Linked DNA regions of Homo sapiens: region 1 is linked to region 2. Evidence: promoter capture Hi-C in 16 types of primary human blood cells and fetal thymus (Javierre and others, 2016). All regions are on one chromosome and are shown on one strand. The core of a region is centred on a gene start or on the middle of the fragment in contact, and the rest is flanking DNA. Distances in the headings are between cores, read along the strand shown. Region 1 overlaps CIB4 (calcium and integrin binding family member 4). Region 2 holds the start of SLC35F6 (solute carrier family 35 member F6).

Region 1 (3,408 bases), core at 479-2,978, 150 kb after region 2:
AGCTCCAGGTGCTGGAGGCCTCCAGGCATAAGCTGGGGGATCAGGCTCCGGTGGGAAAAACCCACTCTCCTAGAAAGCTGAAGCTGAGATGAGGAGGAGAGATGATGAATGCCCTTGCATCTGCTGAAAGTCCCCTAGGCCTTGGGGAAAGGATCCTCCTTCTCTCTCTTTCTGCCCAAGGCCAAATGCCAGAGGGAAGTGCTCCCAGCAGACCCACCCAGCATCTAGGGGAATGGAGGCAAAGGCCAGTGACCAAGACGTCACTTCTCAGGTGGCAGAAAACCCAGAGATGGGAGATAAGTTATCTCTGGAGATGATTGGAGCACCTACTGCCCTGGCCCCTGTTGATGCAGAACCTCCCCCTTGTCCCATACTCTGTAAACTGCCCCAGGGCTTAAGCCACCCCACCTTCAGGAAAGTCGTCACGGGGAGCAGCTGGCAGGGCTCTTGTGGATTGAGGACAGCTTCCTTCTGTGCATATGCAGTGCCTCGCTTGGCCAGCTGCTCCTGCTCTCTGTCTCTGGGCAAATGGCCTCCTGGAAGAGGAAGAATCACCGAGAAAAGGGAAGGCTCCCAGCAGGGCCAGGCAGTTGGCAGTGGTCCCACTTCTTGAGTCCCTTCCTCCTTAGAGAGGCCTCCGAGCCACCAGGGACCCTGGGAGGGGAGGGAGGCCAGGGAACCACTGTGCTTTTTCAGGCTTTCACGCCCAGAAAGTAGAAGCAGCACTGGGGCCAACAAGGCTCTTAGAACCCTGTAGAATAATCCACAAAAATGTCCACTGCATCCTAGTTACCCATCTTTGGCTCCATATTTTGGAAAGAATATGGAAAGGTACAGACATAGATGCTCTAAGACTCAAAGATGGTGCGATGAGCTGGGGCCATCTTCCACTGAACTTCCGTTCTTATTGAGCTCTGAGCTGAATAGGATTCCTGTCTCCTGCCAGGCCTTACAGGAGAAGAGTGCACATCAGCCCCTCACTGGGTCTGGGAGCCAGGAGTTCAGCTCTGCCTGGGTTCAGCCCTTGCCCTGCAGAGAGTGAAGCAGAAGAGAGAAGCAAAAGCTCCTGCCTCCAACCCCCTGGGAAGGAAAGTTGTTTTGCTTGCTTAGCAAATTGTCTCTGGAGTGCACTTTCTTTTTTAATTTGCTTTTTATTTATTGTTAACGTAGTATGACACCAATAAAATAAAATTTTAAGAAATCAATTCCTTAGCATCCAACGACCCTAACATAAATTTTCATTTTCTATTTTCTTTTGCCGTCTTTTCCCCTAGGCAAGCTTTATTTTATAATATCGTAGACATACATAGATACAATTTTATTCTGTGCTCTTTTCCATTAGGCATAAATGCTTTTTCTTGTTGCTACATAGTCTGTGTAATTATCATTTTGATGGCGCATAATTGCATTGAGTTCTGATTTACTAAACCATCTCCTCATGGCTGGACATTAACATTCTTTCCAGGGGTTTATTTATTTATTTGTTACTATAAATAATTTTGTAATAAACACCCTCATCTATTATTTTTCTCATTTTTTGAATTTTTTTTAGTTTAGACATCCAGGTTCTCCTTGGAGGTTTTAGATGGATAGAACTGTCCACTCCAAGAATTTGAACTACGCAATCATTAAAATGATAATTATACTGAGTATGTAGCAACATGGAAAAACCTTTATGCCTCATAGGGGAAACTGCACAAAATAAGAAACCTGGGCTTTGGAATATCCTTAACCCAAATCAGTGATAAAAGATGGAGCCCTGTGACACATCACTAGAGACCTCCCTCTAAGTTGACATGACTCCATAAAGGTCTCTTCGCATGTGGTTTTTCAATAGGCAGCTCTACCCTGTGTTATCATACAATCCATTCTCTCCATCCTCCCACGGACAGTATTATGTGAGAACTTCCCAGATGGACTGTGCTGACAGGCGCCACAGCAGTGCTGGCCCTGCAGCCCGAAGGCTAGGTTGCATCTCCTGCTGAGTGTGCAGTGGATCCTAGCCCCAAGTCTCCTCCACCTGCACTGCTGCCCAGAGGGTGCCATCCTGGAGGGAGAGATGCAGAAGTTCTCATCACTCCTGTGACAGGTCATCAGTTCATCTGGCCACCCCAGCAAATGCAGGGATTCACGGGGCATTTTCCACTTCTCCCCTTGCTCTTGCAGGAGCAAGCTTGTTCCTGGACTCTCAGCCTGGGCTTGTTTGCTAGCCCGGGAGTATGACACCCATGTGTATTTTTTCCATTGCAATGCAGCGTTTTCCTGGAAAACATTCCAGGGAAGGAGCTCAGGTTTGAGGGTCACACAGACCTGGGATCAAATTCCTGCCTTTCCTCTTATTTGGTTAAGTAATTTAACCTCCTCACCCCTCAGTTTTCTTAATCTATACAATGGACTTACTGCTATTGACTGCTTGGTTTCTTGTAAGGGATTAATGGACAAATAGATGTGAATTTGGCTGACACAGCACCTGATATACAGTAAATATTTAACAAGCACCAGTTTCCTGCCTTCCTTTCTGCCCTTCTTGGACCCGAGGGAAGGTATAGATAAGGTGTGGTGCCCAGAGGTCTGGGTACTTAATAAATGCCAAGGTAAATCATGGCTGGCTGGCAGAGCCCTTAGCAGGCAAGGGCAGCCTGATACTATTGGGGCAAAGTCCCCAGGATACAGGAGAGAGAAGAACAGAAAGCTGGGGGTTTCAAAAATCCAATAGTCCAAAATGTCAAGGACTGAAACATTAAAAGGCCTTTGAGTTGCTTAGGTTTAGACTCCGTTGTTTAAAGAGTCACTGAGCGTGGGGCAGTGGGTGGGCAGGGGGAGAGGCGGCTATTGGTGAGAGGAGGCTGCAGTGCGAGTCCATTTCTGTTTATATCAGTGGATTCAAAGTGAGGGACAAAATAGATCAATTGTTGCTTAGATGTGTTTGATAAAAGAGGAACTGTTATCTTGATGCAAAGATCTACAGCCTGCAGAGTTCACAGGGAACATGGTTCCCAGCGTGCCCTGTGCTGGGTGTCCCCAAACAGCTGCAAAGCAGCCCTGACACCATCTGAGAACCTCTGGCGGCTTACAAACAGGAAGGCTGCTTGTAAACAGTAGGCCGGAACCAGGAGGGTCGTGGAGGCACAGCGGGGCCCTGCCACTCCAAGCGGAACCCAGCCTGCTCCCACGAGAAGCAGAGGAGCGAATGTTCTAGGCAGTTTTCTAAGCTTCCGCTGCCTGGTCTGCCCTTGAGTGGGTGACTTCATCCTGTTAGTTACAGTCTCTTGCTTTGAACTAACTGCCTGTAAAGTACAGGTACAGATTGTGTTTTAAAGGGTTTTCATATTGGTTGTTCGGAACTTTGTTTGTGTTTTCCGTGGGAAAACGTATAAACTGTGTTTAAGTTCCCAGCCTGAGCCACAA
Region 2 (3,316 bases), core at 769-3,268:
AAATCCATACTTCACATCGGGGTGCATGCAGCTGCTCCCACATGTTCTTTCTCCCTAAGAGTATCCCTTCTTGTGGTTTGACCTTAGAACACTGTTTAGGGTCCAATTTGGGGGCCCATCTTGGGGTGGGAGGATCCTGAGAGGCCCCACACCAGCTGTCAGGCAGGGGACAGGACCAAAAGTTGGGTCTGTCACCTGGGAGCCTCTTTCCTGACTCTCAGGCAGCCTTTAAAGGCGACGCCTTCTGGGATTGAGGATCTCTAAGCTTCCTACCTGACTGGTTTGGAGTTTTCTAAGGAAGGAGGTGAATCAGCACAGTTTACCCCAGCAGTAACTGGCAATCTGGATTCTCCTTGTGGGCAGCAGCCCTGGTGGACTTACAACCGCTCTCTAAGCACTTGACAGAGGCCCTGGCTGGCATGACAGAACAGAAGACTTGCTTTGCTGTGTTCAGATCCTGAGATGGGAGCCCTCAGGCTGGGGCCTCTGAACAGCTAAGGATTCAGCATGAGGAGTGATCCTCAGGAGGATGCAGGGCCTGGGAAGCTAGTAGTTCTCCACAAGGCACAGTTGGCCAGAGGTGAACCAGAGGAACAGGTGGGGCCCACCCAGGACTCCACTGACTGTGCCCACCGTTTGGGGAAGGGAGAACACTGTGACTGTCGTGTGCGTACACGTCTGTCTCCTCCACCTCAGATTCCAAGCATCTCAAAGGCAGAGATCGCCTCTTGGTCACTTCTGTCCCCTTCCCTTACACACCGTAGGTACCTTATACATGGGATCGTGCCATTGCACTCCAGCCTGGGCAACAAGAAAAGGAGGGGCAGGAAGGCCCTGCCCTGAGATGGAGACAGAGAGAGACAAAGAAATGCCATCCTGCCCACAACAGAGGGGAGGCTAGGCCCTGTCCCTCAGTCTCATGACTGCCTGGGTCCTTAGTCCCTAACCTCCTGGGAACTGTCCCCCCTCTCACCCCCATACATCAGAGCTGAACTGGCCACTTGCCCTCTCTGTCTGAGTTAATGGCACTTTTCTTCTCCCAGGCAGAAACCCTGGAGTGATCCTTGTTTCTTGCTCATGTGGGTCAGGCCTGTGGCCATTCACACCTGGTCTCTGCCACCAGTTGTCCCTTCCTTTCTCTTCTCACTGCCACCTCCTAGTTCCCCTCATCTGCTATGCAGCAGCCTTGGAGTGGTTTTTCCTGCACCAAACCACTCCTCATGTCATTGAGTCAATCATATCACTTTCAACATGTCATTCCCCAGCTCAAAAGCACTTTTCTGATTATGAGAGAAAATCTAACCTGGGCATTTGATGCTGGTTACAATCGACTTTGATCTGGCCTTTCCGTAGACTTTCCTTGACTTACAGTCTCAGACACATTCCGAAATCCCACCTAAGCTTCAAAGCACAGCTCTAACCCCTCATCCTTGAGGGGCCGTGGGGCACCTCCCTGTCTGCCGCTTGAGGCCTCCACGCTCACTGGGTCACTCGGCCTGCACAGCCACTACTGCGGCTCATGTGCACAAGTCCAGGGGTCTCTCCCAGCTCGTGGAGGGAGGTGCTCAGGCTTGGACGCCAGCACTGGAAGGGCCGTGGAAAGGAATCGGCCAACCCTCCTGTTAAAAGACGTGGAAACAGGAGCGGAGGCTGTACAGCAAATCAAAGCCGGGGCTCGGATCCCCCCGTCCGGGGCGCAGCCCCGCTCCGCATTTCCCCGGGCCTCGCATCCCTTGGGTGGTCATAACGCGCGCGAACTGACCGGAGCAAGTGGGAAAGCAGGGGAAGCCAGGAGGGCAGGGCCAAGAAGGGGGAAGGCGTAGAACGAGCGCCGGGGTCGCCAGGGCCCGCACGCCCGGCAGGGCCCAGACTCACTTTGCCGAGAGCGTGTTGATGGAGCCGGTAACAAGCATGAGCCCGGCCAGGAACAGCTGGTACTTGGTCCAGGCCATGTCGGCGGACGCTGGGGTTCGCTCCAGTTAGCGGCGCCGGGCCCCGTCACCCGGGGTCTCCTGCGCGAGCGCTTCCGGGCCGGGCGTCACGTGACCCCTCCTGCTCGCCCCGCCCCCGGGGAGCGCGCCTGAGCCACGGTGCCCGCGCTCTGCCGAGTCGTCCTGGAGCGCTTTGGTGGCCACGCCGTGGCCCTGGCAAATCACGGCCCAGGCCTTCCAGTTTTTTTTTTCTTTTCTTCCTCACTCTCCCCCGCCTTTTTGGGTTTCTTTTTTCTATTTTTTTGAGAAGGAGTCTCACTCTGTCGCCCAGGCTGGAGTGCAATGGCATGATCTCGGCTCACTGCAATATCCGCCTCCTGGGTTCAAGCGATTCTCCTGCTTCAGCCTCCCGAGTAGCTCGGATTACAGGCGCCCTTCACCACGCCCGGCTAATTTTTTGTATTTTTAGTAGAGACAGGGCTTCACCATGTTGGCCAGGCTGGTCTCGAACTCCCGACCTCAGGTGATCCGCCCTCCTCCGCATCCCAAAGTATTGGGATTACAGGCGTGAACCACCGCGCCTGGCCTTGGTTTCTTATTTTTATCTTTGGGTCTTCCTATTTGTAAAAGGGGCGGATGGGACAGTGCAGTGAGGGTGCATCGTGGCTATTACAGCATTTTGTGAATCGTTTTGAGAGGTTGAGCTGGGCGGTGTCAGAAAGGAGCCCTGAAGTGGGCCTGCCGGGAGTTCCTTGGGGACCCTGTAGAGAGGAGATTCCCACGCTGGACGTTTCCACTTCGGGGCTCCTATCTGATACCGCCCACCTTGGGCACAGTTCATATCTTTCAGCAAAGTGGCGAAGGCATCTAGCTCCAGTTGCCGAGGACACCATTTTATAGCTGAGGACAGTAAATTCAGCGAAGCAGAGTGATTTGCTTAAGAACCTGCTGGTGAGCAGTGGGGTAGGGATTTGCGCTTGGGTTCTCCAGTCTCCAAAAATCCGTGCCTTCCGCATGGCCTCTGCACCAAGCCCTGCTTCACTGCTCCTTTGTGGACTTTCTGGTCGCAGCTGAGGCATCCAGGCAGAAAGACCATCCCTAGGTTTGTTTGAAGAGGGTGTTGACGAAGAGTCACACTCTAAAATATTTGAAGGGATTTATTCTGAGCCAAATATTTGTGACCATGGCCCGTGACACAGCCCTCAGGAGGTCCTGAGAACATGTGCCCAAAGTGGTCGGGGCGCAGCATTTTAGAAAGACACGAGACATCAATCAAATACATTTAAGAAATACATTGGTTTGGTCCAGAAAGGTAGGACAACTCAAAGCCGGGAGGAGGGGAGAGGGTGGGGCAGGAAACGGGAAAAATATCTATCTATGTTAAT

The links. The method cuts DNA at HindIII sites, captures the fragments that hold promoters and counts their contacts. A CHiCAGO score of 5 or more calls a contact.
Region 1: a contact is called between a fragment that was not itself captured here and the fragment with the promoter of SLC35F6 in region 2, in 4 of 17 cell types (M0 macrophages, M2 macrophages, M1 macrophages and 1 more). The highest score is 7.6, in M0 macrophages.

Annotation. Positions count from the first base shown.
Region 1 is chr2:26,609,782-26,613,189 of GRCh38, reverse strand. The region is part of intron 3 of CIB4 (calcium and integrin binding family member 4); the gene reads left to right. Among named protein-coding and RNA genes, the nearest start is that of CIB4, 30 kb to the left of the region's middle. The HindIII fragment of the contact is 894 bases long and covers 1,282-2,175 here.
Region 2 is chr2:26,762,986-26,766,301 of GRCh38, reverse strand. SLC35F6 (solute carrier family 35 member F6) reads right to left here and starts at 2,018. Exons shown (of 6, transcript NM_017877.4): 1 at 1,876-2,018. The coding sequence starts at 1,952. RefSeq lists a silencer at 1,842-2,151 and an enhancer at 2,162-2,361. The HindIII fragment of the contact is 6,262 bases long and covers 1,404-3,316 here.